Linked DNA regions of Homo sapiens: region 2 is linked to region 1. Evidence: promoter capture Hi-C in 16 types of primary human blood cells and fetal thymus (Javierre and others, 2016). All regions are on one chromosome and are shown on one strand. Each heading gives the region's core, a stretch centred on a gene start or on the middle of the fragment in contact. The rest is flanking DNA. Distances are from core to core; before and after follow the strand shown. Region 1 holds the start of PCSK1 (proprotein convertase subtilisin/kexin type 1). Region 2 overlaps LOC105379091 (a long non-coding RNA gene).

The links. The method cuts DNA at HindIII sites, captures the fragments that hold promoters and counts their contacts. A CHiCAGO score of 5 or more calls a contact.
Region 2: a contact is called between a fragment that was not itself captured here and the fragment with the promoter of PCSK1 in region 1, in 2 of 17 cell types (erythroblasts and fetal thymus). The highest score is 5.5, in erythroblasts.

Annotation. Positions count from the first base shown.
Region 1 is chr5:96,431,984-96,434,745 of GRCh38, reverse strand. PCSK1 (proprotein convertase subtilisin/kexin type 1) reads left to right here and starts at 1,498. Exons shown (of 14, transcript NM_000439.5): 1 at 1,498-1,883. The coding sequence starts at 1,704. The region is part of intron 4 of LOC101929710 (a long non-coding RNA gene); the gene reads right to left. It also overlaps a transcript of CAST not described here and the pseudogene LOC102724070. RefSeq lists silencers at 346-465, 327-621. The HindIII fragment of the contact is 4,966 bases long and covers 1-2,053 here.
Region 2 is chr5:95,862,334-95,865,083 of GRCh38, reverse strand. It overlaps LOC105379091 (a long non-coding RNA gene), which reads right to left. Exons shown (of 3, transcript XR_001742813.2): 1 at 1,338-2,750. Among named protein-coding and RNA genes, the nearest start is that of LINC01554, 11 kb to the right of the region's middle. RefSeq lists enhancers at 1,160-1,661, 1,917-2,750. The HindIII fragment of the contact is 1,507 bases long and covers 575-2,081 here.

The sequences.
Region 1 (2,762 bases), core at 249-2,748:
CATCTCTTGCTTCCTTTCTCCACTTGTTTATATGCTTTCTTTCCAACCTTCTCCCCTTTCTTCTATTTCTACAGCATAGATCGCGCCCTCGGGCGGTTGAGCTTTAAAAAACAACAACAACAACAACAAAAAAAAAAACAAACTTCCCAGGTGCAGCATACTCTCTCAATTCCACCTCCCGGCGATTTTACTTTTGGCCTGAGTCCAACACGTTCCCAAGAGCTGGACACAAGTTGTCACGATCATGAACCTAACCACACTCCCCCCTGCGGCCAATTTCCTATTTTGCTGTTCAAAAGAGGGAAATGCACATATCAAAAGGAAAACAGCTTGGTGCTGGCCAGCTGCAGAAGGGTGGAGGTCTTTGGTGCTCAGAAGAGAGAGCAGCTCCTGCGGCAGTCCTGCGTGTGTCGCTGTCCAGACCTCGGTGCTGAATACTAGGCACTGGTATCTCCCGCCAGGTTCAATCCCTCAGGGTTCGAATAGGCTCCACCATGGGAGACTGAACTCACTTCCCTAGGGTGAGGGGTGGAGAATTCATTTAGATGTTTCCTTGCTCTCCTCCCACAGGAAACCATTTTTCCACAAAGAGGCATTGTGCATTTTATGGGAAAGTAATGGCACAGCTCCAGCTCAGCACCAAAGTGAAGAGCTCTACTGAGGCACAATGGAAAGTCGAGGTAAATAAAAACTGCTCTTTCCCTCCCTGAATCAACACAACAGCTTTTGGGATCCTAGATCCCCTTGTTGACGAATTCTTAAAAATATGTTTTTTTAAAATCACATGATTAATCATTTTACTGATAAACACCCTAAAAGGTGGTGGTGGCGCTGGCTTTGCAATATCGGAGTATAACTACTGATATTGTTTTACTGAGGTTGAGAAACAAAGGGGAGGAGGGAAGTAAACTTGTAAACTAAGGTGGCTTGAATGGTTAAAAATTCATTTTTAATAGTATTGCTTTAACATAGACATGCTAATTTTCTCAGACAATTTAGAACAGAATTGGGACAGTAGTAGCTTCCCTTCTTCTCCTTACTCTCCTAGCCTCTCTCTTTGAAAGACCTAAGAGCCTTGTTCTTCATAGCAGGTGCTGATGCCCAAAGGGCCATTATAAGAATCCTATAGCCTCCCCCCCTCCCCGCCACACACATGAGATAATAAAGTAAATACAGAGAAAATGGATGGAAGGGAGGGAAAGCACTCCCAGCCTTTGATTCTTGGTAGTTATGTTCAAGTGGGGCACTTCTCTTTGAAAAGTGAAAATGTTTCTCACGGTACAGAATTTATGGGCAGACAAGGAGCAGACTTAACTGATCCCAGCAAACAGTTCCTTCCTTTTCCTAATCCCTGGCTGCTTATTTTAGCCGCTTCTCCGCCCCGCCGGGAATACCATTCGGATCTTAGTCCAGGTAGATCTGACGTCAAGAGATGGCTTTCGTCGATTTGACGTGTAAACACTCATTTCCATTCTGGCTGGGAAGGGCTGGGGCTCCACTCAGCCTGGAGACCGAAGCGCTTCACTGAGCGCTCGCCGCCGCCCAGCCTCTCCTCTCGCGCCTCCTAGCTCTTCGCAGAGCAACCAGGAGCCAGGAGTGGTCTAGAGCCCGAGGGTGGGAAGGGGGAGTCTGTCTGGCTTTTCTCCTATCTTGCTTCTTTTTCCTCTTCCCTTCCCACTCTTGTTCAAGCGAGTGTGTGAGCTATGGAGCGAAGAGCCTGGAGTCTGCAGTGCACTGCTTTCGTCCTCTTTTGCGCTTGGTGTGCACTGAACAGTGCAAAAGCGAAAAGGCAATTTGTCAATGAATGGGCAGCGGAGATCCCCGGGGGCCCGGAAGCAGCCTCGGCCATCGCCGAGGAGCTGGGCTATGACCTTTTGGGTCAGGTAAGAGTTTCCACTTTCAAGAAACTTTCTGGGGCCCCAGGGGACTGGCGGGACTGGAGCGCGGTCTTCCAAGTGGGAGCCCCAGGTTGCACTCTCCAGAGCCCAGAGTAGCAAAGAGCAAGGAGCTGCTCCAGCCCTCGCCCCTGTCGCGCTTGGAGAGAGAGAAAGCTTGCATTATTTACTGTTTAGGCTGGGCGCAGCCAAGCAGAAGGAAGCCGCTGCAGCTGGGTAGGGCTTATGCTTACTGTTGGCCGCTCTAGAATTGAAATCCGTTCCCGCGCGGTTTGGAAGAAAAATCCCTCCACGCTTGTTCAGGGAACTTGAGATACACTCAAGCTCTTACCAACCAAGCGCCCCCGGGAGAAGCAGTGCGCTCCATCCCCCGGGACTGAGGCGGTCTGCGTCAGGAGCCGGCTGTTGCCTTCTTTTCAATATGGCAGCATCAGATCCAAGTCCTGATGCAAGGGGCTAAGCAGGCTTGGGGCTGTCCGCCCTGGCAGCCTGTAAGGGCACGCCCAGGGCATTGGAAGAGTGCCAGCTGCTGGGACTCGCGACCAGGAGGTTGGGAGGCCGCGGAGTAGCCTGGGAAGCTGGGGGGAGAAATGGTGGGTGAAAGACACGGGACCATCTATCCCCGCGACTCTCTAGGGAGCTCCGGCTTTTCACTGGGAACTTATAAAGTCCAAGCTTCATAACTTTGCCCGGCCAGTCCCACTGCAGGGTCGAGATGCCGAACTGACTATGGGGAAGGGATCTATTTCTTTCTTGTTCTTCAGCCAAGTACGTAATCGTTTTCCCGGGAATTTCAGCTTATTGTTGCCTGTCCAAGTGAAGGCTTGGTCGATAGGTAGCTGGTTGGAGGTGGGTGGGCGTCAAGAC
Region 2 (2,750 bases), core at 79-2,578, 570 kb after region 1:
GGCTGGGCAGTCATGCTACCCTCCAGTGAGAGCTGTCCCCAGCCTTGCATTTACATTCTCCCAAATGCCCACCTCCATAGCTGCCCTTCTTCATCTACCCCACCTTGCCAGATGTGCTTAGGAAGCTAACAGGCAGACCACGTACATACTTAGGGCAGCAGCAATTCACAGAAGAAAAGGAAAAATTAAACATATTTTAATCAACCAGGTGGTTACCATGGGAGAAATTTTTATATTTATGTTGTGGCTTTGAATAGCTTTCATTTTGAAGATGGGGTAGCAGAAAACGAATCTTAATATCTTTGATTCATGGAGACTTTAAAGGTCTTTATCAGGTACTGCTTTCTAGAGTTCTACAGACTGATTTTTGCTCCTCCCTGCTTCCCAGTGAATCTTGTACCCCAAGTTGATGTGACTCAGGAGTTAAATCCTGCTGGAAATCTGGAACTTGTCAAGCCTTGATCTGCCTTAACATGAACTATTTAGCTCCTATTGTTCCACCCTTGCATGACCCCAATTAAGGCAATAATAGAACCCAGTACTTTCAGAGTCTTTAAAGCCAAATGATAAAGCTTTATTCCTTAGTTTTGTGGTAGTTTGGAATCTTCATTTTCATGGAGTTGATGAACACTAAGTATTTACTCTCTTCACATATGCAAAAAAAAATTGTATGACCCCAATCTCTCCTGTCTTCTAAAAGACTTAAGTGCGTATTTTCACTAGATCCTACATAGACCCACTATATAAAATGGGCATTGATATTTTTATTTTTAAGACCTAGTAGGTGCTATGTAACCAAATTCTCCTAAATTGTAAGATGGAGTTGACACACCAAGGCAGAAGCACCTGTGGACATTACGCCCATAGGAGTCAACTTGGGTGGGTACATGGTTGCTGCGCTGGTTGGACCATTTCTGCTCTAAGTCACACCAGATGAGGTTGAGAAGGTTAGGAGTTGACTTAGCAGCTGTTAGTTACTACCAAATGCTGTGTGAGCACTAGATCTCAAAAAACTTTGAAATATATATGTGTGTATATATACATGTATGTATATAGTTGTGTGTATATGTATATGTATATATACAGTGTATATATACATATTTGCACACAAAATAAACCAGGTAGACAGTGTACATCTCTTAAAGGAATTACAACAGCACTTCACAATAAAATTTTAAAAACTATATTGCCCACAGCATTTAAAATATAGTGTAGGTATTTTTGACAGCTTTATGAAGTTTTAGAAAAAATAAAACTATATGCAGAAGACCTAATGATTTGATTTACAATGCCAATTTTAAAATTATATTTTCAGAGTTCAAACAACCAATACATACCCTCACCCCCAGCGCCCCAGGTATCCTTTCCTTGGTAACCTCATGCTGGGCAAGAACAAAGGGACTGAAGTGGCAAGATCTACTCCACAGTCTGTGCCTACTCCTTCTCCTTCTACCCTGACAGGAAGAAATCATGGGGCCTGAGATTTCTGTAAACATGAGGCTCTTGCTCAATGCTCTGGGGAACATAAACCCCAAGCCCTGGCAGAGGGGAAATCTCCTCCCACTTTCTAAAACTAGACAGTCGGGCCTAATATGAACCATGGAGTTCAGCAGCACCAGAGCGATCCTGAGTGGTCACAGTGTGTCCACATCAAATCGAAACACACAGGCAATTTGGGTACATTTCCCCTGCCAGTTTAGGATGGAAATGAGAGTTGGAAGAAAGGTCTCAGGAGCCCCAACCTTTTACCCTCCAGGTCACTGGTCACCTCCTTAGGACCTCCAGGACAAACTGCTCCTCTCTGTGGTGTGGGATTTGCTTGCGGAGACAACACGTTTGTTTAGCCTTACACATGAATGCAGAGCATATGGAGAAGTAAACCTCACTGACCACTGCTTCCCCAAGTGACTTCTCTCCCACGCCCCTCATGGAAAGCCCTACAAAGGAAAAATCAATCTTCTCAGCTTTAAACCTGCCTTCTGTCCTCGTCAGATGTTGCCAAGCACGAAGTGTTACGGGGGCTCCTATCACAAAGCAAACAGAGCTGGAGCAGCCGGAAGGAGAGCTGCTCTCTAAAAGCTTTTAAACACTGTTATATTTTTAAAACCACTTACTGAAGAGGTGAGTTATTTTCTACTCCTCCTTCCCCAGAAGCACAGACATTAAGGTTACCTAGAAACTTGTCCAGGAAGCATGTGGCAAATAACAACCATGCAATAGAAACATCCGGATTTGTCATCTAATAGGAGATGGTATCAGCAAGGTCATATTTGGATAGAGGTGGAAGATGAAACTTCATTAGCTTGCATGCCCCAGCTACTGGGGGGCCATTCCCATGTGCTCTGGAGGAGGGAGACTTTGCTTTTATCTTGGCTGGGAGGGCCTTTGATTGGTACAGGTTGGAAATGAGTAAGATCTGAGATTGACGCTTCTTGTACTGAAGACTGCCTGTGGGAATAAAAAGCAGAGGGAGAATAAAAAGACATGAGATGGGGTCGCCTCTACCCTGGAAGAACATCTAATCTGTAGGATGGACGAGATGGGATGTACACAGAGAATGACCTGAGAACAAAATTGTTTTTTTAAGTTTCAGAAGCAAAATAATATTCCGTGAAGGACCAGAAGGGGGACAGGAAGACTTCTTAGTGAAGGTGGTTTTAAATCAGGTCTTGAGAGACAGTGAGAACAGCAGAGAATATGGGAGAGAAGGGATGGGGTGGCTGGCATGGTTCTGTTAGCGAGTCACATGT